Linked DNA regions of Homo sapiens: region 2 is linked to region 1. Evidence: promoter capture Hi-C in human tissues and cell types (Jung and others, 2019). All regions are on one chromosome and are shown on one strand. The core of a region is centred on a gene start or on the middle of the fragment in contact, and the rest is flanking DNA. Distances in the headings are between cores, read along the strand shown.

Evidence for each region. The method cuts DNA at HindIII sites, captures the fragments that hold promoters and counts their contacts. A contact is called where the count stands out against the background at its distance.
Region 2: a fragment that was not itself captured here is called in contact with the fragment with the promoter of CREG1 in region 1 in 1 of the 25 tissues and cell types used here (adrenal gland).

Annotation. Positions count from the first base shown.
Region 1 is chr1:167,552,389-167,555,606 of GRCh38, forward strand. It overlaps CREG1 (cellular repressor of E1A stimulated genes 1), which reads right to left and starts at 1,374. Exons shown (of 4, transcript NM_003851.3): 1 at 1,000-1,374. The coding sequence starts at 1,353. RefSeq lists a silencer at 1,063-1,512. The HindIII fragment of the contact is 6,052 bases long and covers 1-3,218 here.
Region 2 is chr1:167,493,178-167,496,069 of GRCh38, forward strand. All of the region lies in intron 1 of CD247 (CD247 molecule), which reads right to left. Among named protein-coding and RNA genes, the nearest start is that of CD247, 24 kb to the right of the region's middle. The HindIII fragment of the contact is 6,253 bases long and covers 1-2,892 here.

The sequences.
Region 1 (3,218 bases), core at 124-2,623:
CAAATCAGGCTCCATTCCTGGACTCTGTGTGTCTCCGGCCTCCCAAGCTGGGTGTCTGTGACCCCATCCCTGAGACAGCAGAGATCCATCAGAGTTGTAAGTGTGGCCCTGCACCAGAAGGTGGGCAAAGGGCGAGGAAGAGATACACCTTCAATCAGCTCTGCATCTTACTGAGGAGCCACTATGCCTGTGGAGGCCTAAAGACTGCAGTAATCATTGTAATCGTCCATGATATTGTACGTTAGCGTCTTGCTGCAGGAGGGAAAAGCTTAATTCAGGAAGGGTAAGAGAGTGAGAAACCCTGAAGTCACATATTAAAGTGCTTAAGTACCTAACAATCTCTATGCCCTGTAAAACCTTTAAGAATAGGAGCCCAGGCAGGGCGCGGTGGTTCACGCCTGTAATCCCAGCACTTTGGGAGGCTGAGATGGGTGGATCACGTGAGGTCAGGAGTTTGAGACCAGCCTGGCCAACATGGTGAAACCCCGCCTCTACTAAAAATACAAAAATTAGCCGGGTGTGGTGGCACGCACCTGTAATCCCAGCTACTCGGTAGGCTGAGGCACGAGAATCGCTTGAACCTGGGAGGCAGAGGTTGCAGTAAGCTGAGATAGCGCCACTGCACTCCAGCCTGGGCCACAAAGTGAGATTCTGTCTCAAAGGGAAAAAAAAAAAAAAAGAGAATAGGAGCACAGTTAATAGAGACACTGGGCCCCAAGACGACTGAGAACCACTCACGGATGAGAAGTCCTCGGGCTGCTGGCAGAGAATTTACCCCAGGTGCGTGGCCCAGTGGCGGAGGCTTGTGGGAAATTCCTGGTACCCAGCTGCCCAACATCTGGGACGCTGCAACGCCCACCTACCTGCCTGCGCGGCAGAGAAGCAACAGCCGTTCGAGCCACGCTCCACTTCCCGGGAAGAATTCTGGGGAGAGTGAAGGCTCGCTCTGTGGCCGCCCCGCCCACAGCCCGCCTGGGGAAGCCGCGGGCCCCAGCTCACCTGCAGGTTGCTCACGGAGAGCTGCAGCGGGCTCAGGTAGAAATAGGGCACGCCGCTGCCCGCGCCCGGGGGCCCGTCGCTGAGCGAGAGGACGTCGGCGAAGGGCCGGCCGCGCACCGCCTCCAGCGTGGAGATGGTGGCCAGAGCGCCCCAGTCGGAGACGTGCGTCACGAAGCGGGCCACGCGCGCCGCGTCCTCGCGGGGTGGTAGCGGCGGCAGCCGGGAGGCCTCGTCCCAGTCCCCGTGGTCCCGGCCGCCGCGACCCCGCGCGGGCGACACGAGCAGCGCCAACAGCGTCGACGCCAGCAGGGCGGCGAGCAGTGCGCGCGCGGACCCGCGGGATAGCCCGGCCATGGCGGTGTCTCCAGGAAGAGTCCCGGGCCCCAAGACCTGCAGGGACCCAGCCGGAGCTCGGCGCGCCCAGGCCCCGCCCCCTCCGCGAGGCGCCAATCAGAGCTAAGCACAATGCAGGGGGCGGGGTCCCTCTGCAGCTCCGCAACCTGCAGGAGAAGGGATTGGTTCATCTGCATTCCAATCGCTCTGCCTGCCCTCTTTAAGGATTGTGAATTTGTCCTAAACGGGATATTTGTTTTGTTTTGTTTGACAGGCGGAAAAAGAAAGGCTTGAAGAAATCAAGCAACTTGCCCAAATCGTACTGCTAGGAAAAGACCAGCCTCTTTACACAGGCACACACCCCCTCCTTTTAATACCTTTGGAGATGAATATCTGGCATCTGAGAGGAAATGCTGCATTTTCTACCCATGCGCCTCTTTTCTGTTGAATTTACCATCAGCTCCAAAGAACAGCGAGGGTCCCAGCGTTGTAGAAGCCCAGACTCAGGCTCGTGTACCCCATGTGTAGCTGATGCCAAACACTGACATATAGGTGCTTGGAGATAAAAGTTTATTCGATTTGGCCAAAGCGAGAAGGCGGGAGGGCAAGATCTCTCAAATCCGCCCTAACAAAAAGAAGAAGCAGAGAGTGTTTATGCGGCCAGCGAGTCAGGGAGGGGGAGTTTCAGGGAATCGAGGGAAAAAGTCTGTGTTTCTTCAGTCTCAGATAATTCCTTGAACAATCAGACTTCTGGGCGACAGAAGCTGGCCTCAAAGTACTTCAAAGGACTTATTCCTCCTGCAAACTTTTTCGTAACCCTGAAGTTATTATCTCCTCCTGCTTGATAAAGAAACAGTACATCAGCAGTTTATGATTATGTTGTAGGAACAAGGGATATTGGGCAAAAAGAGAGTTGTCAACATGTGCAAGCAAGGGCCTGATCAGAATTTTCATTATTTCAGTCACTAACAAATGCTGGGGTGCTGAAATCTCAAGGGGCCCACTTACACTAGTAGTAAAGTTAGGCAGAAGCCCGAAAGTTCAAGACCTTTAAAAAACTTTTTATTTACTTATTTTAAAATTTTTAATTTTTGTGGGTACATAGTAGGTGTATACATTTATGGGGTACATGAGATATTTTGCTACAGGCATACAATGCATAATAGTCATATCAGGGTAAATGGGGTATCCATTGCCTCAAGCATTTATCCTTTGTGTTACAAACAATCCAATTATACTTTTAGTTATTTTAAATGTACACTTAAATTATTATTGGCTATAGTCACCCTGTTGTGCTATGAAATACTAGGTCTTATTCTAACTATTTTTTGTACCCATTAACCATCCCCACTCCTCCCCTGCAAGTCCCCCCACTACCCTTCCTGGCCTCTGGTAACCATCCCTCTACTCTCTGTCTCCATGAGTTCAATTGTTTCCATTTAGGCTCCCACAAATAAGTGAGGATGTGTGAAGTTTGTCTTTCTGTGCCTGGCTTATTTCACTTCACGTAATAACCTCCAGTTCCAACTATGTTGTTGCAAAGACAGACAGGATCCCATTCATTTTTTATGGCTGAATAGTACTCCATTGTGTATATATACCACATTTTCTTTATCCATTCATCTGATGATGGACACTTAGGTTGCTTCCAAATCTTAGCTGTTGTGAATAGTGCTGCAGTAAACACAGGAGTGCAGACATCTCTCAATATACTGATTTTCTTTCTTTTAGGGATATACCTAGCTGTGGGATTGCTGGATCATATGGTACCTCTATTTTTAATTTTTTGAGGAACTCCAAATTTTTTTCCAAAGCGGTTATTCTAATTTACATTCCCACCAACAGTGTACAAGGGTTTCCTTTTCCCCACATCCTCACCAACATTT
Region 2 (2,892 bases), core at 90-2,589, 59 kb before region 1:
GATTACAGGTGTCCACCACTATGCCCAGCTAAGTTTTGCATTTTTAGTAGAGACAGGGCTTCACCATATTACCCAGGCTGGTCTCGAACTCCTGACTTCAGGCAATCCGCCAGCCTCGGCCTCCCAAAGTGCTAGGATTACAGGTGTGAGCCACCGCACCTGGCCAGTTTTTCTCCTTTTGTCCCATCTTCCTTTTTCCTTCTCCATCTGTTCCTTTCTGCTTCTCAGAATAAGCATCTCTATCCTTAGCTTCAAATCATAAACAACTTAGAAACAGTTACTTAGCTGAGTACTGTCTCTGTGCCAGGCCCTGTGCTGAGGGCTGACATTCATTGTATCTTTGGGTCCTCACAACAGCCATATGAGATAGGTGCTATTGTGCCCATTTTATAGTTGGGGATACTGAGGCTTAGGAAAGATAAAGTAACTTGTCCAAGATCACACAGCTGGAATGTGGCAGAGCTAGGATTTGAACCTTGACAGTCTGGCTAGAAGGGACCTTACTGATCATCTCTGTCCAAATCCTCCATAATGTACAGAAGAAAACAGGACCAGAGGCATCAAGTGACGTGTCCGAGGCCCCACAGCTAGTTAGGGGCAGTGCTGAGAACAAGAAGCTGGCCTCCTAATTCTGAGATTCTTCTTGTTTAAGAAGCATTTTCCATAGGTGGGCATCTGCTAGGCTTCTTTATCTAGAATTATTAATTCCAGGAAGCATGTGCCCTGGTCAGGCACAGAATCAGCAAAAACCCCACTGGAGACCCAAAATACCCTATATGCTCTCACCATTGCAGAATCTGTTGTGTCTGCAGGTGCAGCCTCCGGGACCCAGGACTTTCTTCTCAGGGCTCTGCTGAGTTGGGTGGGGGAGGCTGGAGGCTGCAAAATGATGACAGAGCTTGGGGCTATGATCTGGACTGGGTACCCAGAGCTAATAGGAGAAGAGGACAAGCAGGGGGACAGAACTGAGTCAGGAGACACTTTAGACGATGGAGGGTTGGGGGATGGAGGTGGCTAGTGAATAAAACACTTCTGAAGGGTCTTTGCTGCCTGTGTTGATGGCCATGATCAATTCGGATCCCCAGGGCCAGTTCAGCAAAACCTCTGTCAACAAATAGAGGATTTGTTTAATCTTTTCTGAAAGAGTCCGATGTTATCTAAGTGAGGACTGGCCAGGTAATTGGAACGTTCTAGAGACTGTTGGGTTGACTTGGATTTGGGGTCAATAAACATAGCGGCTCCACTACACTAGTGTGAGGAGGACCTCGGGAGAAATCGCATAGCTCCCTGGGCTGCAGTTTTCCCATCTGTGATATGGGGATAATGTCCTCACCCTGTCGACCTCATGGGGCTGCTGTGAGGGTCAGATGAGAAAATGGGTGGGGAGGTAATAATTAGTGAACAGCACCATTCAAAGCTACAGTGGTCTTATTGCTGTGTTTTCCTAATTGTATTTTGCACTGTGGCTTTACACAGCCCATGTCTCTGGATTGTTAAAAGGATCAAAAAAGATCATGAGTAGTGCATTCCTCGGCATTTTGTATCTCCTATAATTCCTGGATACAGATAAATGTTTATTAAAGAATGTGAAGGTCTCATCAAAAACCAAGCATGAGAGGCAAGACAATTATTACCTCAGATCACATACGCCTTGGATTTCAGAGCTGGAAAGAGGGTTAGAGACCTATTCCAGGACTTTACTCTACAGCAAAGCAGTCCGGGTTCCAGAGAGCCCAGGTGACTTGCCTTGGCTGGGCTGGACTCTGTTCTCTCCCCACCTGGACCTTGTGTCCGAGGAGCAGTGTTGGACCCTCAATTCAGACAAAGTGGGAAGGCAGATCCCAAGGAGGGGAGGGCTGGTGGCCCAGGTGGCTGCCTGGAAGATACCATCACTTCTCATGCTGTCTTAGGTGAACTTTCAAAGTCCAGCGTAAGAAAAAGTTTCCAGCAACAGCATTGTGGTTAGTATTGCAGGCTTTGGAGTGAGACAGTCCTGGGTTTAAATCTTGGCTGTCTACCTAGTATCTATGTGGTCTACGATATGTTACATAACCTCTCTAAGCCTCAGTTTCTTCAACTGTAAAATGAGGATATCCTGAGGTTGTTACCTTACAGTTTGCTGAGAGGAATAAATGCAATAATGGACGGGTGTGCTCACCCCAGAGCTTGGGACTGGGTAAATACTCATAAATGACAGAGGTGGGAGTAGTTGTTACAGTAACCTACCAGAGGGAAGAAGAGTGTGCTCCCGTTTAATCCTTATCACCTACGCAGTGCTTGGCATATAGGAGCGCAACAGATGTTTCTTGAACAAACATCACTAAGTAATGCCTACTTCTGCCCTTATTCCCCCTCAGCATGTTCCTTGCCCAGCTGCTAGAATGATCCTGCCAAAACATATAATCATGTATCTTTTCTGCTCCAAGTCCTTGACCTCCATCTCACTTAGAGCAAAATGTCCTTCAAGCTTGTTTGCAACTGTCACTCTCTCCCCAAACCCCCAGAACTCAATACGTCTGACCTCACCTCCTACTGGCCTTCCCCTCACTCATACCACCTCTTTGCAGTTCCAGGAACATGCCAGTCTGCACTGCCACCTCCGTCTTCTCCAGGTTCCCACTTGGCTTGCTCGCTCACTTCCTTCTGGGTTTGACTAGAATGCCACCATCTTAGCAAGGACATCCCTGCATACCCTACCCAAAACTGTATCCCCACACCACCAGCCTGACACTTCCTATGCACCTTCTCTGTGTTATTTTTCTTCTCAGCATGTATCACAACTATCTACATATTTTTCAGTTTACCTCGTTTATTGCCTGTCTCCGTCTTTAATTGTTAGTTCTATATGGGATCTGGGATTTTGTTGCTGCTGTGGTTCAGTTTGTTCATGAT